3 separate regions of the Homo sapiens genome follow, and all the other regions are linked to region 1. Evidence: promoter capture Hi-C in human tissues and cell types (Jung and others, 2019). All regions are on one chromosome and are shown on one strand. The core of a region is centred on a gene start or on the middle of the fragment in contact, and the rest is flanking DNA. Distances in the headings are between cores, read along the strand shown. Region 1 holds the start of EPHX2 (epoxide hydrolase 2). Region 2 overlaps CCDC25 (coiled-coil domain containing 25). Region 3 has its middle 9.1 kb from the start of CLU.

Region 1 (4,666 bases), core at 1,431-3,930:
TCTAGGAGTGTGGGAAAATGAAAACAAACTCACACACCTTTTTAACATACACAACCAGTTTATTCTACCCAGCCAAGGCATATTCTTCTTATGTGGAACTTCAACCTATATCTGCCTCCCACCAGCTGGACAGGCACCTGCACCTTCTCCTAAGTCCCAACACTAACAATGCCACAGGAAATCAGACCCTATCAGTGCCCCTCAAAGCTCAAGTCTGTCAGCCCAGGACCATACAACTAATACCCCTACTTATAGGGCTAGGAATGCCCACTGCTACAGGAACCAGAATAGCCAGTTTAACTACTTCATTATCCTACTACCATACACTCTCAAAGGATTTCTCAGACAGTTTGCAATAAATAAATCTATCCTTACTCTACAATCCCAAATAGACTATTTGGCAACAGTGACTCTCCAAAACCGCTAAGGTCTAGACCTCCTCACTGCTGAGAAAGGAGGACTTTGCACCTTCTTAGGGGAGGAGTGTTGTTTTTAAACTAACCAGTCAGGGATAGTACAGGATGCTGCCTGGCATTTACAGGAAAAGGCTTCTGAAACCAGACAACACCTTTCAAATTCTTATACCAACCTCTGGAGTTGGGTGACTTGGCTTCTCCCCTTTCTAGGTCCCGTGACAGCCATCTTGCTATTACTCACCTTCAGTCCCTGTATTTTTAACCTCCTCCTCAAATTTGTTTCCTCCAGGATCAAGGCCATCAAGCTACAGATGGTCTTACAAATGGAACCCCAAATGAGCTTAACTCACAACTTCTACCGAGGACTGCTAGACTGACCCACTGGCCCTTTGACTGGCCTAGAGAGTTCCCCTCTGGAGGACACTACAACGGCAGGGCCCCTTCTTTGCCCCTATCCAGCAGGAAGTAGCTAGAGTGGTCATCACCCAGTTCCCAGTAGCAGGTGGGGTGTCCTGTTATGAGGGAGGATTGAGAGGTGAGGCCAGCTGGACTTCCTAGGTCGAGTGGGGACTTGGGGAACTTTCCTGTCTTACAAGAGAATTGTAAAATGCACCAATCAGCGCTCTGTAAAACGCACAATCAGCAGCATTCTAAAAGTAGCCAATCACGGGGAGGATTGAAAAAAGGGCACTCTGATAGGACAGAAATGGAACATGGGAGAGGACAATAAGGGAATAAAAGCTGGCCACCCCAGCCAGTAGCGGCAACCTGCTGGGGTCCCCTTCCATGCTGTGGAAGCTTTGTGCTTTCGCTGTTCACGATAAACCTTGCTATCACTCACTCTTTGGGTCTGCGCCATCTTTACGAGTGTAACACTCACTGCGAAGGTCCACAGCTCCATTCTTGAAGTCAGCAAGACCACGAACCCACCGACAGGAACCAACTCTGGACACAACTATAGCCTCCAACTCCTGGGCTCAGGCAATCCTTCTGCCTTAGCCTCCCAAGTAGCTGGGGCTACATGCATGCACTAATGTCTAGCTAATTTTATTTTTATTTTTGGAGAGACAGGGTCTTGCTCTTTCACCCAGGCTGGTCTTGAACTCTCAGCCTCAAGTGATCCTCCCACCTTAGCTTCCCAAAGCACAGAGATTACATGCCTTTCCCTCAAGCTACTTGCCATCTCATCTTCCTTACTATATTAAAAGCAAAGGCTCCGGACATGGACTACTGGGGTTGGATTTCTGGCTCTGCTCTTTAACAGCTATGTGATTTGGACAGCTGGTTTCTTTCTGTGCCTCAGTTTCCTCATATGTAAAAGGAGGATATGAACAATGGCTTCCATGCCTGGCCTTCTTTTTCACTTTATAAATAAGTATACTTCTCTCCTTTCTGAATGTGGGAATAATACATTGTTTATAAATTTAGAAGTTGGAAACTACAAAAAAAAAAAACACAAAAAAAAGAGAGAGAGAAAGAAAATCATTACATTATTCCTAATCTCATTTGATGTACTTTGGCCTATTTCTTTCAGGCACTTTTCTGCATGTACCTTTTTTCCATAGCTGAAACCATATTGTATAAATAGCTTCAGATTCTGGTGGGGTGGTTTTTTCATGTAGTAGAACAGGTGTTTTCCCAAGTCCCTGAGCTCTCACTCTGCACACCCCATCTACCATTTCCCAGTGATGTGGCTTTGGGCGGTTGCTGCAGTTTGCTATTACACAAGTAAGCATGCAACCCACACCTGGGGAGAGAACTTTCTTCTCTCCTGAATCTCGGCTCGCATCTTTAAGCGCCACCCCATTAGACAGGAGGCAGCAGAAGCACAAAGCTCCATGAGTAACTCCTCTCCCTTTTGGAAAAGTTCACAGAAAGCAATTTTGGAGACCTTGGCAACGTTTAATTATGAACATTTAGAAAGACAACGGATCTCCTCATATGCACTGGGACTTCAGGGCCAGGTCTTCAGTTTCATGATTCGCATGATTCGCAGGGCTCCGGCACAGGAGCAATCTGAAAGCTGGGCTGCAAGCCCAGCGCGGTCTGCCTCCTGAGGCCCCGACCCACTGCGGCGGCGGCGCTGGGCCCCCTTACCTGGGCAGCGCCAGGGCCTCCTCCGTGCGGCCGAGGACGCCGAACACCGCTGGCAGCGCCAGCACCCCGTCAAGGTCGAAGACGGCCGCGCGCAGCGTCATGGCGGCGGGTCTGCAGCCTAGCACCCGGACACGCAGCTAACCTGGGAGATGCGCGAAGGCCAGGGCGCATGACCCGCCCAGCTTGGCCCGGCTCTGCCCCGCCCCTGCCCTGGCCCCGCCTCCTCCCCACACCCCCTTAACGGGACTCCGCCCTCTGCCCGGGTTAAGGCTGGACTCTGGCCGGGAAAGAGGCAGGGGGAGGGGCACAGGAAAGGGAGTCAGAGGGAGAGGAAGAGGAGGCCGGGAAGGCGGGGACCCCAGGCTAGAATCTCGCCTCTGGATGTAACGCTTTCTACTGTCTCAAAGGAAAGTCCAAAGTCTCTTATGCCCCCTCCCCACGCCCCTGCAGTAGCTGCTTGAAGAGGCAAACCCAGGCCCGGGCCTTCCTGGACGGACTGACAGCTCCCTGCGAACTTGCTGGACTTGGAATGCCTGGGAAAGAGGCCACAGACTCTGTGTGTGTGTGTGTGTGTGTGTGTGTGTGTGTGTGTGTGTGTGTGTGTGTGTGTCAGCACATCCAGTGACTTCTACATTCAGAACATAAGACCGTGTTGGGGGGCGGGGGAGGGGCATATCCAGTGACTTTTCTAGATTCAGAACGAAGGATCACAGATCCCTCACTATCCTGACCACTCCTCTAGGCACGCTCTTCTTTGCCAAGGCAAATGTGTTTCTAGAATAAAATATGATGTTCCAGCTATCGTGTGCCAGCCCAGAATACTTCGATTTCAATCTCTTGTGGAATGAAGCTTAGAAGAACTAAATGTAGGCTATTATTTTCCTTTTGTACATGCTACTTGTAATAATTCTGTCTTAAAATGTGCGAGGTTTGTTTTTAATCACCGATTTCCACACTATTGGCTCGTTTATGTTCCTAGAAAAACTAAAACTTTGGCTGGGAGTTCTTGAGCTGTTGTAGTGCAGCTCCATGAATTAAAAACCGTGTCTTTGGTGGAGACCAAACAGAGTGAGTGAGGTCTCCAACAGTGGAGAATTTACTCTTGAATGTGTCTCTGTGGATTTATCCAAGATACCCTCCACCACGGAGCTTCAAGAACCTTGTGAGGGGTTGTCAGATACCTCACTGTAACTGGGAGGTCTACAACAGTCTCTGGATCTAGCAATCAACAACAGGATTGACCAGAGCCGTGGGTTTCCTCTGGGCTGTTTGCCCTTAGCAAGCTATGCTGTTGCTTCCTTCTCTAGCTTGGTAACCTCTTCCAGGCTCCTGCCTGGAGCAGTTATTAGTGTTTTCTGAGATTCTTGCCAAAGAAGCAGAGAGTGGCCAACACTGCCAAATGTTACAGGAAGAACTGAAAAAAAAGCTGTCCAATTTTGGACTTGGATGACACCGGATGTTTCAGAACACTTTTTGTGGGCCCTTTATGGTAGAAACTGGATTACTCTGGATTTGAAGACTGAAAGATAGGCAGAGAAGGGAGTACAGCAAGCTAGTTTCTCATGAAGTTAGTTGATCTCAAAGGTATAATTGAATTTTAAAAAATAGAAAGAAAATTGCAGCCTGACCTATATAGTATGAAACCTGTTAAATCTCCAGATTGGGCATGGTGGCACACACCTGTAATCCCAGCACTTTGGGGCTGAGGTGGGAGAATTGCTTGAGGCCAGGAGTTTGAGACAAGCCTGGGCAACAAAGCAAGACATTCTCTCTATAAAAAATAAAAATAAAATATTAGCTAGGCATGGTGGTGCATGCCAGTAGTCTCTGCTATTCAGGAGGCTGAGGTGGGACGATCACTTTAGCCCAGGAAGTGGAGGCTGCAGTGAGCCATGATTGTGCCACTGCACTCCATCCAGCCTGGGTGACACAGCAAGACTCTACCTCCAAAAAAAAAAAAGAAAGAAATTAAATCTCCAACTTAGAGTTTCCTTTGGGCTCCAGACTTGCCAACTTCTTACTCAACATCTTACTCAACGTCAATATCCAACTTCTTACTGAACATCTTCTCTTGAGTGTCTAACAGGCATCTCAAATTTATCATGGCTAAAACAGAACTCTCTCTGCATTTCTACTTCCCACGCCTGTTCCTC
Region 2 (4,666 bases), core at 922-3,421, 250 kb before region 1:
GCACTGCACCTCCTTCCCTGTGGACTTTCTCATTTGTGTTGTTAAGTAGGTCATCTCAGGGAAAGAGATTGTCAGAGCTTGTCTACTGTGGCGTACAGGTCTATTCATTTTATATTTACAGGACTTTATTCTTTATTTCCCCTCTTTTCTGGTTGCAGGCATGCAAAAGTGCCTTTATTTATTAGTGTTCTTTATCACTGTGACTGTAGAGTCCATATTATAATTGAATGAGAACAAAATTATCACCTTCAATTAAAATAACTTACCCTAAGATCTTATGTGACTCAGTGAAGCCTAAGTGACAAAATTGTTTGTTTTCATGTTCCTTAGGACCTGGGATAGAAACAGATGGTGACCTATGACATAGTACTGAAAGGATCTTCTTAACATTGCGTCTAATTATTTGATTGGAACTATGTCAGAGAATTATTGTCCTTGAGGGCTGTCTTTCCCAAAATTTATCTTGAAGTGTCTAGAGATAGCACAATTTAGCTGCTATTGAGCAGTCTGCAGAAAATGGAAACTGGGTGGATGTATTTGGGATTTTGCATGTTTTATAGTATAGTTTAAAAATATAGTCATCCTTCAGTATTCATGGGGGATTGGTTCCAGGACTCCCCGAAGCTACCAAAATCCTAGGATGCTTGAGTCCCTTGTGTAAAATGGAGTAGTATTTGCATATAACATATGCACATCCTTCCATATACTTTATCTCTAGATTACTTATAATACCTAATTAGTGTAAATGCTATGTAAATAGTTGTTATACTGTATTTTTTTAATTTATATTATTTTTATTGTATTTTTTTAATTGTTTTTTTCCTCTAAATATTTTTGAGCTGAGGTTGGTTGAATTCACAGATAAAGAAATCAAGGGCCAACTGTAACAGAATTTAAGATCCCTTACAAGTCATCTAGTCAAACCTCAGATTTAGTGCATGAATTAGAAGTAATAGGATTTTACATCTTGTTTATATCTACATATTCTTCTAAAAATTTGTAAGAACAACATTCTTATTCCCATCTCTATGAAGAACTAAATGTACGAGGCTCCTTTATGAATCAGAGATGTTTCTTTATAATTTATTCCTGAAAAATTCCAGAATAGCATTATTAAATTAAATAGAGCTTTGAATTTGAAGTTTAGAGACTTAACTGTCATGTGCTAATTGAGGTGGGGGGGATTAAACATCCCTTGGGCAAGGGAACGTTGTCACAGTGGTTGGGTTAGATCCTAATAAAGTCATTTAACCTCTCTGAGGGAGTATTCATCATCAGTAAAATGGACACATATTATTTCACAGGGCTGCTTAGAATTGAAGCAAAGACACATCGATGTGAAAGTCTTCCTTGACCTACTTTGTAAATAGTCATACCTTATCCAGATAGTCTTTGGTTGCTGTTTTTCCAGAATATCATTATGAAAAGATGAGATGTGTTTAATCCTTTCTGGAAGCTAATTTTAGATTTCTTGAAACTATTGGAACAGTTTAACACTAAACAGTAGTCTTCAACATACCACAACTCAGATGCCATTGTTGTGGTTATTTTGCTTATTGAAGTTTTCTGTGTTTTAGAGGCACTTTCCACCAGAAATCTAGCCCCCATATTATTTCATGACCTTAGTCATTTTATTCTCATCATTTTGGATTTTTAAAGCTTGTATATAATTCTAGAGTTGAGAAATAAACAAATACACACACACACACACACACACACCTACCTACCGACCTACATACATACATATACAAACACCATCTGATCAGTGACAGATGTTAAAAGTCCCGAGACTAGGAAATTGAATTTGTAGCCCAAAAGATTGCTAATCTTTCTACCCTAACTCTCCCTCTGTTGCTTGCAACCCCTGTTCCTGAGCTCCAAGTATGAATCAAGTTCAAGATTCCAAGGAAGTTTTGCACTGGGTGTTTTTATTCTCTCTTTCAGTGAAAATGTTTTCCTAGTTTTTCTCCATACTTTAAAAGAATAGACTAATTCTCCTTGTAACCGTCTTCTGTTAAGGGATACAGATGTTTGTGTTTTGTTTTGTTTTGTTTTGTTTCCATAAGTTATTGGGGTACAGATGGTATTTGGCTACATGAGTAAGTTCTTTAGAGGTAATTTGTGAGATTTTGGTGCATCCGTCACCCAAGCAGTAAACACTGCACCATATTTGTAGTCTTTTATCCCTCACCCCCCTCCCACTCTTCCCCCTAAGTCCCCAAAGTCCATCGTATCATTCTTACGCCTTTGCATCCTCATAGCTTAGCTCCCACATATCAGTGATAACATACAATGTTTGGTTTTCCATTCCTGAGTTACTTCACTTAGAATAATAGTCTCCAGTCTCATCCAGGTCACTGCAAATGCTGTTAATATATTCCTTTTTATAGCTGCATAGTATTCCTTTGTGTGTGTGTGTGTGTGTGTGTGTGTGTGAGTGTGTGTATACACACACCACAGTTTCTTTATCCACTCGTTGATTGATGGGCATTTGGGTTTGTTCCACAATTTTGCAATTGTGAATTGTGCCACTGTAAACATGTGTGTGCAAGTATCTTTTTTGAATAATGACTTCTTTTCCTCTGGGTAGATACCCAGTAGTGGGATTGCTGGATCAAATGGTAGTTCTACTTCAGTTCTTTAAGAAATCTCCTTGCTGTTTTCCATAGTGGCTGTACTAGTTTACATTCCCACCAGCAGTGAAGAAGTGTAAGTGATACAGATGTTTTATGATCCAATTTAGAACGTGATCAGTTGATTTTTAAGTTAAAGGCAAGTGTTTATGTAATATAGGACTTAAGTTTTAATTTAGCATATACAGGTTCATCAAGAAGAATAATTACTGTAATTCCAAAACATAGCCCCAGACAAGTGGGGACTCTGCACATCTAACTCACAGCCTTTATAGGGAATGGCTTACTTTCGTTGATGACAACCCAGACTGTCTTACTGAGTTGTTCATCCTCAGTGTTTGGGATCTAAAGCTGGCATTTGAAGATACTAAATGACTCTTTCAAACATTGCTACTGCTTTTATTTCAGATTAAGACTCTGGGGCAATCATAGTCTTTGCGCCTGGATATAACACAATCATTAGTCTGTTCTTTGTACAATTATCGAAGGCATTTTTACCTTGGCTTCAGTTCATCGTGCTAATGGAAGAGAACCACAGAGAAAACCACTAAGTGAAGTTGGAGCTAAAACCAGACTTCACAGGAACCAATGTTTTCTACCCATATCGTATTTCTCTACCATCTTTAATAAGGGCCATTTAGATAAGCCTTAGTCTGATCCCTTTCTCTAACAATGCTGGTGTTAAGCAATGGGAAAGAGAAAAAAGATAAAACAACTGTAGTGTTCAGATTGTGACATTGGCAAGCAAATCAGAATGCACACTCTTAGTGAATGTTGTCCAAAAAGGAGTCAGGGCTCTACCTTTGTGTGTGGCCTTCAGGACTTGCTTGTAAGCCACACAATAAAATCAGTCCCTTTGTGCTGTATACCATTATGCAGGTTTTTTAAATTAAAAAATGTGGCAAACCAACTAAGTTGGTAAACTAGCCTATGTTTGACTTCCTGATGGCCTTTCCTATTAAAAAAGAAGAAGAGATCAAAGCCATGTTGTGAAGTCACAAATCTGTGACAATGTTGAGGCTCAAATTACTGGAACTTAGGCCAGAATCAGTTTGCATATTGGCAGAATTGTTGGCATGAGGACATTGAGGCAGTGTTTGCTTGGTACATTTGTTGAAGGATCTGTCATGTTTTCTTACAGTCACATTTGTTTTGCACTATACTAGGTCAGGTGGGACTTACTGCATTATTTAGAGATCAGTGGTCACTTACTGCTGTGTAATCAGGCCATGTAATGACACCTCACAAAATATAGCTGTTAATTCAGCTATGTCAGGAAACTGACAACTTAAGGCGGAGAAGTGATGAGTCAATTTAGTTATTTTACTTTCTGAACTCAGTGACTGAGATGAGAAGGCAGCTCGCTAATTAAGATAATTGTAAATTTTAAATATTGAATTATTTTCAAGGCTTTTATGTTCTCATTTTTGTGTTTCCTACAGGATGGCAATGATTCAGATGAATTCATGTAAAAGGAGAAAAGGAGAAAAGGACCTTTGAAAGATGTGAATGTAGAGACAATTGCAGACCTTTTGGTTTCATCTGTGTTCTGAAATATAAAATACAACCAAAATTCTACCTTCATCCTACCCAGAAATTATTGATTTTCAAGTTTTAAAAAAATTGTACCTTTTTTGCTGACAGAAAAGGATCAGATATGTATAAAATAGTTGAACTTGACAGCATATAACTTAAAGTGAAAATGTTTTTGCCAGAACATGTCTTGGTACCTTGTGAAAGCAGGCTGCCCTTGTTCTTGAGATAGACTTTAAAATGAACCAGCTCTGAAAAGTACTTCTGCTGCTCTGGTCTATCCCTGAAAACAGATGTCTTGAAACACTTTTCATATTCTTAAAATAATCTTCACTTCTGTTAAGAAGAACATGTTGGTGGGTAATTATGCGAATGTTTCCCTGTCCCTGATTTCTCGATTAGGCGTATGGGTTTTGAAAAAGAGATTTTTCAGAAGATTGTCAGCTTCAGTATTCATGTTCCATCGTGTCATCTGGGTCTGTTAGTGTAGTGACCCTCAG
Region 3 (4,666 bases), core at 1,477-3,976, 130 kb before region 1:
TTTGCAAAGCAGTCAATTATTTCACTTTTCTCTTCCTTGTGTTCCTTTGTTAAATACAGACACTAGCAGAGAACACACACCACTACTTTGCTTCTTTCTAACAGATGCCCCTAGCCATGCTGACTCAGTAGTAGATAGCATGGGGCCTGCTATCCTCAATATCATAGGCCCAGTTTACCAATTATCGTAAGACCAATTATCATCTTCAGCCTCCTAATGTCAGGATCCTCACTTGCTATGCAATATTTCCATATTTCCATTTTTAGTATGGCAGCATGTCATTTCAAGCTATCCATTTCTAGAGTTGTTAGAGCAAGTAGTACCATACATGGTCATGCCTGGCTCTGACAAATAACTGAGATTTTAGTGACAGCACAATAATCATTTACTTCTCATTCATATCACTATCCATGGCAAGTTGGTGTCTGTCTTATAAATGTTGACTCAAGGATCCAGTGTCCTTCCATCTTGTGATGCTGCCATCTTCAATATGTAGCCTACAAGATTTGCTAGAAAGGAGAGAGATAGGAGGAGTGTGCAGTGGAGAAAATCATGGGACAGGCCTGGAGGAGTCACACAATTGCTATCAGGTACGTTTGTTCCATTGACCTTAGCTCAGTCATATGGCTCCAACTAGAGGTTAAGGGGGCTGGGAAAAAAATCCCTTATCTCTGTTACCATGAAGAAAAGGGAAACAAAGATGTTGGTGAACAGTAACTCATTAACGAACCCCTCTCCAACCCAGACCTCTGCAGAATTTTTACCTTTTCTCCCTAATGAACTTTCTAATGTCATGAATTGGAGCTTCATGCAGTGTTGCTGCCTTGGTTTCTCCCACAAAAATCAATCCTTTGGAAGTTAAAGAGCAAAATATTTTTGAGAGGACACAGAGGACTAGTCAAGGGAATGTCATAACTGTGTTCCAGCAAAGTTGGCTATAAAGTGAAAACTTCAGTTTAGTTCTAATATTGACTTCAATTTACAATAAGAAATAGAATGCCCTGAAAAAAAAAAAAAGTCCTTCAACATACTCAATTGAAGACTTCTCCGGATAAGTGTTAAATTGATTTTTTAAAGGCCATTCTCTGAACTATGTGATATTTTCACAATTCAAGAGTCTCCTTTCTTTTTTTACTTCCTCCCAGAACTTCCCCTATGGTATCTCCCATGTCTATGGATTCTTGCCTCACTGTACATTTACCAATACTGGAATTTTTGAGTATTATAATGGCCAAGAGGTGTATTGCAATACCACTCTTAAACCAGTGGGTGATGCTATATAACATGGCCTCTTGTAGCCTGATAAATCTTCAAAGAGGGCTTAATAGGGTCAAGTTAATACCTATGAACCTTAGGTATTAATTAGGCTCATTAATTAGGTTCATGAACCTTATTTCATGAACTCTGTAAGGATACAGTTCTGAGAAAAGTAGCTTAATACAAAAGATATTTCAGAGCTTAACCCTTCCAGATTAATATAATAACATCTTAGCAAAGAAAAACTACCTAGGTTCTTCATCTGAATCAATTATAAATTCAGCATGAAAGTGGCTGACTTCATTCGGGGCTGGATATAGATGAAAAAAGAAAGAGGCTTGAGGATATGTAAGAAGGGCAAGCTTCTTTTAATTGAATGATCCACTGGAGAATGAAAAGGGATCCCTGCAGGAAGTCCTGCAATTTTAGGTTACTGCAAGTAGGACTGGAAACATCTCTGTCTTCAGGTGTTGAGGAATTAGACATATTAAAATAGGAGGATCAGAGCTGGAGGGATGGGACTGCTTTGGGGAAGGTATTCTCCAAAGCATTTGGTACACAGAAATGTCCTTATGGGAGCCCTGCAGCAGGTTGGGCTTTTAACATGATAACAAGGGTGCTGATGGACATTTCTATCCATGCTCTGGATGGAGACCCAGAAGTCCAGCTTACCTGTTTGTTTCTCACTCAAAACTGGAAGAACAAAATTCAGAGCAATCCTGACAGAGAGCTATAGTGCACTGATAAGATAAAATTCAAGAGAGATAAATTAAAACCCCACATTTAGTGTCACATCATTTTCACTAAAGGATGAAGCTTAGTAATTCAGAGAAGAAGATCTAGTTGATATTTGGTCATGCATGGCTCTTGTTCATTTATTAAATTAATGTATTTTGATTGTGTAGCCAGGTGCTATGAGCCAGAGATATGTTTCCTATCCACATGGATAGTATAGCTTTGATATGAATCAAAAATAAATAGGATCTTAGATTGCAATAATGGAAAAGTTATTTCAGGTAATTTAACAAGCATGTATTAAGCACCTACTGCATGCTAAACTGTGTCTTAAAGAATGGGAGGTGCTATGGTTTGAATATTTGTCCCCTCCAGAATTCACATTGAAACTTAATCCTCAATGTGGCAGTGTTGAGAGGTGGGACTTTTACCAAGTGACTGGGTCATGAGGTCTCTGCTCTCATAAATGGATTAATCCATTCATGGATTAATGGATTAGTGGGGTAATGGATGAATGAGTTATCATGGGAGTGGGACTGATGGCTTTATAAGAAGAGGAAGAGAAACCTGAGCTGGCACACTCAGCCCCCTCACCATGTGATGCCCTGCACTGCCTTGGGACTCTGCAGAGAGTCCCCACCAGCAAGAAGGCCCTCACCAGATGCAGCCCCTCAACCTTGGACTTCTCCTCTTCCATAATTGTAAAAAATAAATTCTCATTCTTTATTTATTACCCAGTTTGCTATATTCTATTATAAGCAACAAAAAACAGACTAAGACAGGAGCTGAATGCTGAATGACAGAAAAAGGTGTGAACAATCATCTGATAAATTTCAATATAAAATGCTTAATCAGGATTTCTTTAATTTTTCCATTGCCATGATGATGGAAAAGAAGTAGCAAACATATCTTTGAAGTCTTTCATTTTATTTTTTAAAACTATATAAGAGTTACACGCCATACCACAATGAAAAAATATATATTTTAATATTCAATAATAATGGTTTTACTGAATTGAGGGTAGGAGCTGATATTTTTAATTTGTATAAAAATGCATTTACAAATAAAAATAATAGTTTGAATTAACTCTAGACATATGTTATTGTCCTACACAGGAAGAAAGAATAGAAATGTGAATTCTTCTAAAACTAATATGTAAATTTAAAGCAATTATAATTGCAGTGCCATGTTTTTTCTTTTTTCTTTTAATTATTTTTTTCTTTTTAGAGACAGTGTCGCACTCTGTTGCCCAGGCTGGAGTGCAGTGGTGCTGTAATAGCTCACTGCAGGCTTAAATTCCTGGGGTCAAGAAATCCTCCTGCCTCAGCTTCTTAACTAGCTAGGACCACAGGCATACATCACCATGCCCGGCTCATTTTTTTTAATTTATTTTTTGTAGAGATGGGGTTATCGCTATGTTGCCCAGGCTGGTCTTGAACTCCTGATCTCAAGTGATCCTCTTGCCTCAGCCTCCCAGATTGCTGTGATTACAGGCATGAGCCAATGCACCAGGCCTAATGCCATGTTTTTTCAATGGGGCAAAATTAATTTAAAGTTTATCTAGAAGAATTAATGTCCAAGAAAAGTCAAGAAAATTTGAAAAGGAAGAGTGAAGAAGATTACTTTCTCAATATTAAATATTGTTTTTAAGCTATGTAGTTACGGCTGGGAGTGGTGGCTCATGCCTGTAATCCCAGCACTTTGGGAGCCTGAGGAGGGAGGATCTCTTGAGCCAGTTCAAGACCAGCCTGGTAACATACTGACATCCTGTCTCTAAAAAAATATATTTTTTTAATTAACTGGGCATGATGGCGTGCACCTATAGTCTCAGCTATTTGGGAGGCTGAGATGGGAGGATTGCTTGAGCTAGGGAGGTCGAAGCTGCAGTGAGCCATGATCATGACACTGCACTCCAGCCTGGGTGACAGAGTGAGACCCTGTCTCAAAAATAAATAAATAAAATAATATTTTTTAAAGCTATGTTATTAAAACAGTATATTATGCATGAAGAGAGGAATCAGAGGAATAAACTAGAAAGTCCTGATACAGATCCAAGTTTATTTGGGGAAATTTATATGTGAAAAAATGGTATTTCAACTCAGTGTGATTAGGGTGATTTATTTGATATATTGTGTTGACATAATTGGCTATACATCTGGAAGAAAATGAAATTAGATCCTACGTCATCCTTCTCTTACACACGCATACACACAGTCATACACACATACACCATAAACATATCAATTCCATCTTGATTACCTATCTAATAAGAAATTGACACAATAGAAAGTTAGAAGAAAATTAGAATAGCTATCTGTCTTCTAGCCAGAGGAAGACATTCTGAAACAAGACATGAGATTTAGAAACTATAAAGAAAAAGATAAACAAAAATCACTTGCATAAAAACTTCAAAAAGTCCTTGGTAATCAAAGATAAAAAAATGATAATCTGGTTGGAAAAAAACTGACAACACACAAAGGGTCACTTTCTCTATTTAAAGAGCACCTATAAATTGATAGAAAAAAAGATGAATAACTTGATAAAATGAGCAAACAATATGGATAGACAAGTGACAGAGGGGAAATTTTATTTAAAAATAAATAGTTGAAAACAAAAAATATACAAAGAGATTAAGGTGGTAAAAATGTCATTTTTCACCCACAAGATTGGCAAA

The links. Contacts are between HindIII fragments. The study calls those that stand out against the background at their distance.
Region 2: a contact is called between a fragment that was not itself captured here and the fragment with the promoter of EPHX2 in region 1, in 1 of the 25 tissues and cell types used here (dorsolateral prefrontal cortex).
Region 3: a fragment that was not itself captured here is called in contact with the fragment with the promoter of EPHX2 in region 1 in 1 of the 25 tissues and cell types used here (spleen).

What each region holds. Positions count from the first base shown.
Region 1 is chr8:27,489,157-27,493,822 of GRCh38, reverse strand. EPHX2 (epoxide hydrolase 2) reads right to left here and starts at 2,680. Exons shown (of 19, transcript NM_001979.6): 1 at 2,514-2,680. The coding sequence starts at 2,614. RefSeq lists a silencer at 2,597-2,876 and a cis regulatory region at 4,623-4,666. The HindIII fragment of the contact is 8,102 bases long and covers 2,290-4,666 here.
Region 2 is chr8:27,735,655-27,740,320 of GRCh38, reverse strand. CCDC25 (coiled-coil domain containing 25) reads left to right here. Exons shown (of 9, transcript NM_018246.3): 9 at 4,076-4,666. The coding sequence ends at 4,105. Among named protein-coding and RNA genes, the nearest start is that of CCDC25, 35 kb to the left of the region's middle. The HindIII fragment of the contact is 4,304 bases long and covers 20-4,323 here.
Region 3 is chr8:27,621,498-27,626,163 of GRCh38, reverse strand. No RefSeq gene overlaps it. Among named protein-coding and RNA genes, the nearest start is that of CLU, 9.1 kb to the right of the region's middle. The HindIII fragment of the contact is 5,581 bases long and covers 1-4,666 here.